Regions from separate parts of the Homo sapiens genome. Here region 2 is linked to region 1. Evidence: promoter capture Hi-C in 16 types of primary human blood cells and fetal thymus (Javierre and others, 2016). All regions are on one chromosome and are shown on one strand. The core of a region is centred on a gene start or on the middle of the fragment in contact, and the rest is flanking DNA. Distances in the headings are between cores, read along the strand shown. Region 1 holds the start of PDLIM2 (PDZ and LIM domain 2). Region 2 holds the start of LOC107986925 (a long non-coding RNA gene).

Region 1 (6,221 bases), core at 1-2,500:
GTGAGCGCGCCCACCTGCGCCTCTCCGCGCGGCCCGCCCTCCCCGGCGCCGGGCTCCTCTCCGCGCCCCTGTCGGCGCGGAACCCTGGCCTCGTCCGCGGCCCAGCTCCCTGGAGCCTCGCATCAGCGGGGGCGCCCCCGCGAGCTGCGCTCTCCCCGGCCGGAGCGCTCCTCCTCCAGCCCCCAGCCCGCAGGGTACTTTGCCCTCGGAGCGAAGGAGGCTCCAGAACTGGTAGAGCCGGGCCATCGGGCTGGGCACCTCCCCGCGGCGCCCGCAGCGCGGAGTCCACTGACCGGCTCAAAGGTCTGGGAATCTCGGGGCGGCCGCGAGCCGGCCTCGGGGACTGGGGTGGGGGCGGTGCTGGGAACAGAGGCTAGGCCTGGGCCCAAGGGGAAGGCAGCCGGGGATGGAGCGGACAGACCGCTGGTGCTCTTGATAGATTCTCGCAGCACTTGCGTCCCCAGGGCAGCCCCAGGATGGGTGCTGGGCAGGGTGGTGCCCAGCCTGGCACCGCGGCTTCCTGCCTGGATTGGCTCCTGGCTCCAGAGCTAGAGGCTCAGGAAATCCCACAGGGGTCTGTCTGCAAGGGCACTTCCTTGCCCAGCGGAGGGGCTGTGGATGGGAGGCCTGTCACCCCGGCTGTCTGTCGGGCAGCATCAGGAATCTGGGGGTGGGTGTGTCCAGCTTGACAGATGAACCCTGGCCTCCTTGCCCTGGCAGCCGGCCCCTGGGGGAGGTGGGGAGCCCGGTCTTGCCCGTGTGATCCACTTTGCCAAGAACGAGGTGGGCAGCTAGGAGGCCCATGTGAAGACTCGGCCTCACCCCACCAGTCCTTCACCTGGCCAGTGACTTACACAGTCTGTACTGGTGCCAGCCTGTTCCTTGACCCGTCACTCCTGCTTCCTGAGCCCTGCTCTCCCTAGGCCACTCACCAGCCCTCCCCCAGAGTGGAGAGGAAGTACCGTGTGCTGTGGGTTTTGGGGACAGGAAGCAAGCGCTAGTGGGACTGAGCCCTGATGGTGGAGGAGGGGAGACTGAGGGGGTGCTGGCATCCCCTCCACTTGCCAGCCCCTGCCCCCCATGCTCCAGCAAGCCCCCTGCCTGGCAGCCTGGGCAGCCCCCTCCTGGGAGTCGCTCCCTGGGCTGAAGACTAAGGAAGGGAGAACCCAGAAGCATGGCTTCCCAGGGTGGGGGGAAGTGAAACCGGGCTGAGGGAGGGAGTTAGCCACTTCCTCTACCCACCCCAAAGCCCCTGAGTAGCTGCTCCGGGAGCTGTGGTGCCCTCTCCTTCTCCCTTTGGCTCCTCTCCTGCTGCCTTACAGTGCCCCCAGAGCCGGCTAGGGGCATGGACTTCACCTCCTGGTCCTCTCTTCCTCAGGTATGGCGTTGACGGTGGATGTGGCCGGGCCAGCGCCCTGGGGCTTCCGTATCACAGGGGGCAGGGATTTCCACACGCCCATCATGGTGACTAAGGTAAGGATGGTGGCTCAAAGAGATGAGAAGGTCCTGCCAGAAGCGAGGTCGGCCCTGTTCACCCCACTCTGCACAGATGGCTTGCTTTTTCTGTTCTGGAGCTAGGGATCTGCTGCTGCCTGGCGTGCTGGCTGTAAGGGAGCCGTGGCCCTTTGCCACGGGGATGTGGTGGCCACTTCAGGAACAGACCTTGGGAGTGAAAGGGAGCTGGGACCAGGACAGGGCCGGCTCTTGCCTCCCCAGTTGCTATCCCCACACTTGCAGGCAGCCATTTGGGGTGATTACTAGAACAAGAGCCCCGGAGTTCTTGGCAGTCTCCTCTTGACCTGGGCCCAGGCTGGGAACATTCACAGGAGGGCTGTGCAGGCAGCCACCTGCAAGGTGCGATTTGCACGGGCAAGGCTCTCTATCCAAAAGTATTTCCAAGCACAGTTCCTGAAATTCTGCCACTGCACATTCTTTGGGAGGCCCATTAGAATGCCAGTGTGGGGTGGGGGCTGCCACCTGCGCTCCTGGAGGGGATGGCTGATCAGCTGGGTGTCATGAGCAGGCAGAGGGACATGCAGGAGGGTGCAGGCCGGCCTGGGTCAAGCCAGCCTCTGTGTTTCTTGGGTAGCAGAGTGGGAAGTCCCTTCTCCAGCTGGGCCACGGTCTGAGCATGCCAGCTCCTCATCCCTACAGGTGGCCGAGCGGGGCAAAGCCAAGGACGCTGACCTCCGGCCTGGAGACATAATCGTGGCCATCAACGGGGAAAGCGCGGAGGGCATGCTGCATGCCGAGGCCCAGAGCAAGATCCGCCAGAGCCCCTCGCCCCTGCGGCTGCAGCTGGACCGGTAGGGCCTCCCGCTCTGCAGAGCCTGTGGCATTCCCCCTCCTCCACCACCCCACGTATTGAGCAGCCCTTGCTCCTGCCCATGGGCTAGAGCTCAGCCCTAAAGCGGCCTTCTTGGGCCCTCTCCACACCTTGGTGAGAAGGTCCTGGGCTCTGCTTCCTGCAGCAGGGTGGGCTGAGGGGTGTTCCCATGCCTGGTTGGGTAAAGGTGGGCGCCAGGCTGGGCGTGCAGTCACAGGCTGGGCAGGGCGAGCTGGCACCAGCCACCTTGAAGCCCGGGTTTGACTGGTTCCCAAGAGTGTGCAGGGCACAGGGCGTGGGCATGAAGTGGGTTGAAGAGGGGAACCTTCTGGGAAAGGTATGCCCGAGGCTGCATCCCCAGGACTCCTGCTTCCAACAGGGCATGGCCTTTGTTTAGTTCCCAGCTGGAAGTGAGGACTTGGGGGGCTCATTCCTCATAGAGGCTGTCTGTTCCTCCCCATCACTGAAGGCAGATGCCCGATCCTGGGTTACTCCTAGGGTTTTGAGCCTATAAGCCAAGGTGGGGCCAGGGTGGGGCCTGGAGGCCAAGCTATAGGGGGAACAGGTGGCTCCCTGGGGTGGGGCATTGCAGTGAGTCACAGATCGGGAATGCCAGGAGATCCCCGAGCCAGGAGAGCCCTCTGCACGGGCCTAGAACCTGAGTCAGACACCTCTTGCATCCTGGCCACCCCCACATTGTCCTGCTCTCTTCAGCCCTACCAAGCCCCTCCTTCTCCAACTGCCCTGCCCTGTGGTGTGGCAGAAGCCGGCTCCCTTCATGTCATTCAGGTCCCTGGGTGTTTGCAGGAGCGGGACCCCAAGAAGGAGGGTAGAGAGCACCTCATGGCATCTGGGAATGGGGCAGAAAGCTACAGGAGGCTGAGGGTCTGGCAGCGGAAGGGCAGGAGCCTCGGACTGTCTCTTCCTCTGGGGTTCTCTGGAGGGACCAGGGCTCGGGGGAGGTAGGCCTGGGCTGTAAGTCAGGCCTCTGGTTCTGCACCAGGCAAGCCCAGACTCCAGTCTCTTAATTTTTTTTTTTTTTTTTTTTTTGAGACAGAGTCTCGCTCTGTTGCCAGGCTGGAGTGCAGTAGCGTGATCTCGGCTCACTGCCACCTCTGCCTCCCGGGTTCAAGAGAGTCTCCTGACTCAGCCTCCTGAGTACCTGGGACTACAGGCGCGTGCCACCACGCCCAGCTAATTTTTGTATTTTTAGTAGAGATGGGGTTTCACCACGTTGGCCAGGATGGTCTCGATCTCCTGACCTCGTGATCCACTTGCCTCAGCCTCCCAAAGTGCTGGGATTACAGGTATTACACCGCGCCCGGCCCAGTCTCCTTACTTTTGCTGACGTGATGCCCACCCCCCCCCCCGCCCCCATCTCCCGCCTCCTACCCTCCCAGGTGACCTCTCTGGTATTCAGAAGCCCTGGGGCAGGAAGCAGGGCTCCAGGCTGGAGCCAGAGACTGAGCTCTCCTCACCCTGATCCCATGGCTCTCCCAGGAAGCGGAGGGTCCTGTTGCCCTACATCTCTAGAGGCAGCCTCACGGCCAGGAATGTGTGGCAAGATGGGACGAGGCAGGCTGTCCCTCAGCCCAGACTTCAGTTACCTCCCATTCAGGGCTCCAGCTGGGTTCCACTTTGGAAGAGGGTACCCAGGGAGCTGGGAGGGCGTGCCCCTCTCGCTGGTGGGGAGCTGGGCCTACTTGTCTGGAAGGAGGCAGGCGGGTCTCGCCCTTTGTTTAACTGGGGAGACCCCTGAGAAAGGGATCAGGAGTGACGCGCTCAAAGGCACCCTGGCCTCCAGTGGGCAGGGTGCACAGCTGGCCCAGTCACCGTGGGCTCTAGAACTTGAGGCAGCTCACTTTCCCTCTCTGGGTTTCAGTTTCTCCATGGGTTAAAATATAAAGGATTATTTCTATGAAATCAGTAATCAGGCCGGGCGCAGTGGCTCACACCTGTAATTTCAGCATTTTGGGAGGCCGAGTCGGGCGGATCACCTGAGGTCAGGAGTTCAAGACCAGCCTGGCCAATACGGCGAAACCCCGTCTCTACTGAAAATACAAAAATTAGCCGGGCATGCTAGTGGGCACCTGTAGTCCCAGCTACCTGGGGGGCTGAGGCAGGGAGAATTGCTTGAACCCAGGAGGTGGAGGTTGCAGTGAGCCGAGATTGCACCACTGCGCTCCAGCCTGGGTGACAGAGCGAGACTCCATCTCAAAAAACAAAAAAATCAGTAATCTTCCCCCAAATCAATCTACAAACCCGAGGCTGAGTGATATCAGTGACAAAGTCCAGGCAAAATAGAAAAAAAAAAAAAAAAAAAAAAAAAAAAAAGGGCAGGATAATGTGAGGACTCTCTAATAAAACTGAATGTTTGAACTTTCTGATGAAGTTATGTACGTTCTACTTTTTAGAACCAAACTATCCTTTCTTTTTTTGGGGTGGGTTTTGCTGTTGTTACTGTCGTTTGAGATGGAGTCTCACTCTGTCGCCCAGCCTGGAGTGCAGTGGTACAATTTTGGCTCACTGTAACCTCTGCCTCCCTGGGTCAAGCAATTCTCCTGCCTCAGCCTCCCAAGTAGCTGGTGTTACAGGCATGCGTCACTATGGCTTGGCTAAATTTTTTTTTTTTTTTTTTTAATTAGAGATGGGGTTTCACCTTGTTGATGACCAGGCTGGTCTGGAACTCCTAACTTCAAGAGATTCACCCTCCTTGGCCTCCCAAAGTGCTGGGATTACAGGCGTGAGCCACCGTGCCCGGCCTTGGTGTTTTTTTGAGACAGAATCTCGCTGTGTTGCCCAGGCTGGAAGGCAGTGGCACAATCACGGCTCACTACAACCTCCATCTCCTGGGCTCAAGCGATCCTCCCACCTCAACCTCCCAAGTAGCTGGGACTACCGGCATGCACCACCATGTGCAGCTACTTAAAAAAAAATTTTAGTAGTCATGAGGTCTTCCTATGTTGCCCAGGCTGGTCTTGAACTCTTGGGCTCAAGTGATCCTCCTGCCTTGGCTTCCCAAAGCGTTGGGATGATAGGCGTGGGTCAATGTGCCTGGCCAACTGTCCTTTCTTTTAAGGAACCATGGTTGTCATTGATGATAGTTGTTTGTCTTGAGTTTGACAAAGTTAAAAGTTGACAACCGGATGTCCAAATTTTCTGTAGCTTTTACTGGTGTTGAGAACTAGATCTGGGAACAGTTTTGGCCTCTTTTGGGGGTTGCAGGGTGCAGGGCCCCTGTGACATTCCCTCCCTCTGTTGCCTTCTCAGGTCTCAGGCTACGTCTCCAGGGCAGACCAATGGGGACAGCTCCTTGGAAGTGCTGGCGACTCGCTTCCAGGTAAGCTGGTGCCCTCCCCTGACAGCCTCAGCACCCTGATCACTGGTGCATGAAAGTGAGGCCCGAGGGCAGGGCGGCCTTGGCGGGGCAGCCCTGCCTTTCCTGACACAGTCACTCTCTCCACAGGGCTCCGTGAGGACATACACTGAGAGTCAGTCCTCCTTAAGGTCCTCCTACTCCAGCCCAACCTCCCTCAGCCCGAGGGCCGGCAGCCCCTTCTCACCACCACCCTCTAGCAGCTCCCTCACTGGAGAGGCAGCCATCAGCCGCAGGTGAGTGTGCCTGTGAGTGGGTACCCTGGTCGCCTGCGCTGCCAGCTCCAGGCTGGCTCCTCTGAGTCTCAGGAGCTCTGCTTGGGAGCCCGGGGCAGCATCCTCCCTGGGCAGGCTGGGGGTGGCCCTGGCACACACTGTCCCTTTCCCACTTTCAGCTTCCAGAGTCTGGCATGTTCCCCGGGCCTCCCCGCTGCTGACCGCCTGTCCTACTCAGGCCGCCCTGGAAGCCGACAGGTGAGGCTCCCTGGGGGAGGACAGGCTGGAGGAACAGAAGCACCTC
Region 2 (6,221 bases), core at 3,342-5,841, 170 kb after region 1:
CCTGGACTTGGGCCCTGGCTTATGCAATGCTCAGACTCTTAGTCAACTTCAGCAACTGGGGCACATCCACACGCATGTGCACACACGTGCAGGCACACACCCGGGCAGGGAGGTGTGAGGAAGGGAGACCAATGAGCCTGTGCCAAGCTCTGCTTACAGATCTCCCCAGATCTGGAGAGAAAAGGGGAGCCCTTCTCCAAGAGGGGGCTGCGCTCAGGCTGCTAGGGTATGATGATGGCTCCAAGCCTGTGGCTGAGGTTGGATGGACCATTGAGAGGAGCCCTCCAGGGTGAGGGGACAGAAGCCCATCAGTCCGTATTGATGGAATGTGGCTACAGTGTGGAGAGAAGAAGATACTTTCTCTTCCTGCCCCAGAAGGTACCCAAGCCTCCGGGATGCTGGGTCACAGAACCCGCCTGGCAGAGAGTTGCATCAGAGCGAAACTGCATGCTAGATGCCTGAGGGGAGAGGGCACTGAGGACTTGTGATCCTAATTTCCCAACCTTCAGCTGCTCAGGGTCAAGTCCTTAGGCTCCACTTGCTCTTCTCCCCTCCCCAGCATTCTTCTGTACTAGGTTGCACATGATGAGGGTGGTCTGAGGGGAGAACAAGGAGGGGGTGTGACTCAGAGTTCACCCGGCTGTCAGCAGCCCTGAGTCAGAGGGAGGGTGGGGAGGTGGGTGGAACAGCTTTTGGTAGTCTTGGGGTTCCCTATAAGCAAGAGCATCCCAGAAAAATAGAAGAGAGCCCCCCAGAAGCTACGAGGCTCCCACATGCAGGGTAGGCCTTTTCTCGGCCACCACTACACACCCCAGGAGAACAGGAGAGGCCTCCACGAGTCCTGGATGATTTAGGTGCGGACTTGCCTGGGGGAAGGGTGTTGGCCCAGAGGACCCCTTGGGTACCTCTGAACTCTGGGATTCTGCAGAGAGGCCTCACCACATCAATGCTTTTTGCTCTGTGTACCCAGATGGGTCTGTGGAGAATTTGGGGGGTTCCACTGCTGGGACTGGGGAGATGACAATCTGGGGTCAGGGGACTGAGGTGGGTGTGGGATGTGGGAACAGGAGGGGTGTCCCATAGCACCAGTGGAGCTTCTGCATCTGCTTCAGGGCTCTTGTTTTCCTGGAAGTAGGAAGGAGAGTGGGGATGGCTGGAAAGTTCTGAAAATTGCTTTTTGCTTATGTATGGTCTTGGCAAAGAAGCTGTGGGGTGTGTTCCTTCTTTATCATAGCTGGCAGCCCTGACTTCCCATAATACAATGATTGGGAGGCTGAGGCCTGGTTACTTGGTGCTTCCTCCACGTGTCTCTGTAGACCTCTCTGCAGCTCTTCTTGTTTTAGCTCCGTAGGCAAGACATCCCATTGATGTAATGTCAGCCTAGGAGCACAACTGTCTTCCCGGGCTCACGGCCTCCACCTACCCAGCTAGAGCTGGAGAGCCATGCCCTCCCCAGGCCCTGCATCTCCTCCCTCCCTGGTCAGGGGTGTCACCAGCAAGGGCACGGCCACCAAACACAGCCTGTGGATCAGCTCTCTGAGATGGCCCTCGTTTGCTCACTGTCTGAACAGAGCATTTCCTTTCCTTCCCTTCCTGTGAGCAGATTCCCCATCCAGGTGGGTAGCTGCGGCCAGCTATGCAGGCACCAATGAGCTGCAAGGGAGGTCAGCCACCCTTTAGCCAGGTCCACCCCCTGCCTTTTACAGAGGAGCAAATTCAGGGCCACGGCATCCATAGGACCAGTCACGGGCAGCAGTGTGGATCTACAACCCACCTCTCCTGATTCTCAGTTTGTCATTCTTTTTTTTTTTTTTTTTTGAGATGGAGTTTCGCTCTTGTTGCCCAGCCTGGAATGCAATGGCACGATGTTGTCTCACTGGAACCTCTGCCTCCTAGGTTCAAGCGATTCTCCTGCCTCAGCCTCCTAGGTAGCTGGGATTACAGGCATGTGCCACCATGTGGGGCTAATTTTGTATTTTTAGTAAAGACGGGGTTTCTCCGTGTTGGTCAGGTTGGTCTCGAACTCCCGACCTCATGTGATCCGCCTGCCTCGGCCTCCCAAAGTGCTGGGATTACAGGCGTGAGCCACCGCACCCAGCCTTTCTTTCTTTTTTGAGACTGAGTCTCGCTCCATTGCCCAGGCTGGAGTGCAGTGGTGTGATCTTGGCTCACTGCAACCTCCACCTCGCGGGTTCAAGCAATTCTCCTGCCTCAGCCTCCTGAGTAGCTGGGATTACAGGTGCCTGCCACCACGCCCAGCTAATTTTTGTATTTTTAGTAGAGACGGGGTTTCACCACTTTGGTCAGGCTGGTCTCAAACCCCTGACCTTGTGATCCACCCGCTGTGGCCTCCCAAAGTGCTGGGATTACAGGCGTGAGCCACCGCGCCCAGCCAGTTTGTGATTCTTTATGATACATTAATGCTTTCATTTTCCTAGGGGCTTGGATGTGCATGGGGCTGGAATTGGAAAAAATTTATCTGGGCAGAATTTTTTCTTCTTCCAAAATCAAGGTGGATGGTTCTGGGCACATGGCTGGTGCTTTTTAGGTACTTGTTGATCTGCCCGTTGGGGTAACTCCTGTTTCACCTTCTATGGGAAGGAAGGGAATATCCCGTGGGAGTTTGTTTTTTTTCCTTGACTATTCTCATCCTTGTGATTGCATTCTGGCTGGGCAGTTAGAAAGGAGGGGGTCAGATGGGCCACTTCCCCATCCCTAGGGTCAAGCTTCACTCTCTCTCAGCTCCCTCTCGGAACTAAGACCTGAGCAAAGGGGTCAGTCTGTACAGTGCAGCCACCCTGACTGACTGTTAGAGAAATAAACAAGATGTTATTGTGCCGAGGGGAGAAGAGTTACATCAAAAGTATCTCAGAGAGGAAGAAAGCCAAATTTCTTTTTATATGAGATGCATGGATAGGGGGAGAGAGAGAGAAAAAAATGCCTGGGTAATTAACTTAATAGGTTTCTTAAAGAATGCCCTTGTGAGTGATGTTCAACACATTCAAGTGTTGACAAGAAGGCATTGAACTTGACGCCCACGCAGCGGGCAGAAGCATGCTCTCGGCTCCAACACACCTTCTTTGTCTGAAACTTGTGGTAAGACTCAGTGCTGGGTTGTGAAATCTGTCCCAGGGAATCCGTGCTGCAGGAGCTCCAAGGTCAAGCCCCGTGCTTCTGGATAGGGTTGGGGCTGGCAAGGGTGACCACTCGGAACTAAGATCCCACGAGTAGGAGAGCAGAGGAAGAGGCCCTCAAGTCAGACACCTAGAGATGCTGCCATGCCTGGGAGAGACCCGTGAGCTCTAGGGCTCCCAAGACAACCTGCCACTCTTGGGGGTGGTCGGAACAAACCTCTGCTTCTTCCCTGCAAATCCTGGTTGCCTTGGGAAACTTGGGTCTGATGTCCAGGAACACGTGTGAGACCCTAGGTCTTCCCTATCTTGATGAACTAAGGGAGGAATCTAGGTGAATGTATCAATGTGGATTTTCCCTTTCTCCTAAATCGGTGGTAGATAGAGAGGCCCCAAATCATTGCTGGGCTGCTGAAACAGGAGGCTTTGACTTGGATAAGGAGGAGTGTGTCTGTGTGTGTGTGTGTGTGTGTCTGTGTGTGTGTGTGTGTCTCTGTGTGTGTGTGTGTGTGTGTGTGTGTTGTGCGTCTATATATTTGTATTTACAGAACATTTTGGGTTGCTCTTGACTGAAACCACAAGAAGCATAAATCACTGTTCCTAAAACAAAGCAGTCTCCTCTGCCAGGCAGCCTGCCTCAGAGGCCCCAGATGTGGATGGGGCCCTTGGCCTCTGCCTGTTGCTGGCAGATCAGCCTGCCTTCCCATTGTCAGTCACCCACTCTTCTCATCACCAGCCACCCACTCAACCACCCTCTCTTTCTTTTTGTTTCTTTTTTGAGGCAGGGTCTCATTTTGGCACTGAGGCTGGAATGCAGTGGTTTGATCATAGCGCACTGCAGCCTTGGCCTGCTGGGCTCAGGCAATCCTCCTACCTCAGCCTCCCGAGTAGCTAGGACTACAGGCACACACCACCATGCCTGGCTAATTTTTTTAAAAAGTTTTATATTTTATAGAGTTGGAGTCTTGCTGTTTCCCAGGTTGGTCTCGAACTCACTCCTGGCCTCAAGCAGTCCTCCCACCTTGGCCTCCCAAAGTGCTGGGATCACAGGCGTGAGCCACCCTGTCTGGTCCCATCCTCCCTGTCTGTTACATTAGGCTCAGGCTTATCAGGAGATGGGTGTTTTCAGGCTGGGACCTGAATCTCAGGGTCTCTGTCACAACCATAGTGGCCAGATTTGTAAAATGGATAAAAAAGGTGACATGAATGCCTTTGTGAAAGAACTTCTCTTTCTTAGATACTTTACCAAATAAAGCAAACTAAGTCTACGGTTGCCTGGCCATAGACCCTGTGGAAGCTCACTTTAAGGGAGCAATCCAAAAGGCCCAAATCCACACCCTTGGTTAACGGGTTTCCAGCCTGGGAGAAGGACCTGCACTGCCTCTCACCCAAAGTCATATACCAAGACTGCGCGTGTCTGTGTATGCCGTGGGGAGAGTGGGGTGAACTAGAAATGCTCCTCATTTACAATCAGTCATCGTGGAAGGGAATCTCCTCTTGCAACCAGAAAGTCTGGGCTAGCTCTCTGCTCCTGTTATTGGCCCCAGCCCTTGTTCTGGGGGCTCATTTCTGCCTGCAGCAGCTGGTTCCCACCAAGGCAATGCCATTATTCTGGAGAGGCAGGATTCCAGAATTTGCATAAACTCCTAGGGCATTTCTGTTTCTAGGAAAAGGGAAGAGGTCGTCATCTTTCTGCCTAACTCCCCATGCATTAGGACATGATAGTCAAGAAAAGGCTGTGGGCTTAGCTGGGGATGCCCGTTAATTTTACAGTCCAATTTCTCCTTCCTTCACCACCCCATCCCTTCTCCAGGCTGGAGACGTATTCCTGCTATGTCTCCTCTTTTCCCCATTGCCCAAGTTGAGTTTCCTAAGGGCAAATGGAGCAGGTTAATCAGATTCCTCACTTGCCTGTTTGGCCCAGGTGTGTGGTCAGGGAAGTATCCTGGTAGCTTAGTTCAGCGCACATTGATCGAGTGCCTACCAGGTGCAGAGACAGGGCTGGGTACTACAGGGGATACAAAAATTAATAGTCTCACTGTTAATAATTCCTGCCTTTAAGGAGTGTTCATTCCATGGGAACCACACAGCTGCCTGCACCATCCCTATATTCTTAGAGAATAGATGCTCCCTGCTCAGGAGTCAGGAGGGAGCTGTGAGCATCCCAGAGACAAGCAGGTTTCCAGAAACTATCTCTCAGTAATGCAGAACCCACCTTCCAGCATCGAAACTGGGGGCCGCATGAACTTTGACAAGGAGACAACAATCAAGGTGGGACAGATTTGTGCCTCAAACTCTCTTGAAAATATAATTTTCTTCCCTTGGATATAGCTGGCTCGAGTGAAGCAGCCTTCTTTTAATCTTGACAAAATAATGAAATCAGATCAGTGATATTGGCGTGTTTCATGTGGACACATGATGCTGGGAGAACTTCAGAGCTAGGCAGCTCCCACAACTGCCAAGAGACTGAAGCTGAACTTCAAGGCAGAGTCCTCCAGAGTGGCTTAGGCAAAGTCTCCACCTTGCTGAAGCCCTTCCTGGTCCACCACTCCTTGTGGAGGAGAGGGGAAGGTGGGAGCCAGGGTCTGGGGCTTTGCCGGGCTGGTGGCCGCCTCAACATTGGCTTTGGGATGAATCTCAGGACCAGACTTCCCCGCCCTTGTGTGGGAGGTGTGAGGGGCTGGAGCTGGGAGGCAGGAAGTGAGCGCAGATGGGCTACCGCCTGGACAGCTGTGCGGGGAACAGAGCACATCTGTCTGGGTGTGAGTGGGGCCCCTCCCCACAACCTCTGCTGATTCTACATGTTTGATAGGGTGTGGGCTGAGGGTGTGGGCTGAGGGTCCCAAATGGGGAAGAAGATGGGAAAGTCTGACTATAGAGCAGGAACGAGGGTTGCTGATGGGGTATGTTCAGATGGAGGGAGAGGAGGGTTGAAGAGAAAGTGGAAAATGGAAGCAAACAGATCAAATTTTATCTTTCTCAGGATGGGCTCTGGGCTTTCAGCGGCTCTCCAAGCCCCAGGGTCTGATGTCTGTTCCTCTGGGAAGCTGCCCTAGACCCCTGGCCGCCCCACCCACAGGGTGCTCCCTC

What was found. The method cuts DNA at HindIII sites, captures the fragments that hold promoters and counts their contacts. A CHiCAGO score of 5 or more calls a contact.
Region 2: a fragment that was not itself captured here is called in contact with the fragment with the promoter of PDLIM2 in region 1 in 3 of 17 cell types (naive CD4 T cells, naive B cells and activated CD4 T cells); the score reaches 7.5 in naive CD4 T cells.

Annotation. Positions count from the first base shown.
Region 1 is chr8:22,579,225-22,585,445 of GRCh38, forward strand. It overlaps PDLIM2 (PDZ and LIM domain 2), which reads left to right and starts at 1,251. Exons shown (of 9, transcript NM_001368120.1): 1 at 1,251-1,473; 2 at 2,155-2,306; 3 at 5,597-5,666; 4 at 5,793-5,938; 5 at 6,097-6,175. The coding sequence starts at 1,381. RefSeq lists silencers at 38-107, 208-297, 308-467, 1,198-1,287, 2,852-3,146 and enhancers at 2,485-3,177, 5,452-6,121. The HindIII fragment of the contact is 20,077 bases long and covers 1-6,221 here.
Region 2 is chr8:22,748,006-22,754,226 of GRCh38, forward strand. All of the region lies in intron 4 of PEBP4 (phosphatidylethanolamine binding protein 4), which reads right to left. LOC107986925 (a long non-coding RNA gene) reads left to right here and starts at 1,801. Exons shown (of 3, transcript XR_007060852.1): 1 at 1,801-6,221. LOC124901908 (a long non-coding RNA gene) reads left to right here. Exons shown (of 3, transcript XR_007060855.1): 3 at 1-1,773. The HindIII fragment of the contact is 3,734 bases long and covers 2,725-6,221 here.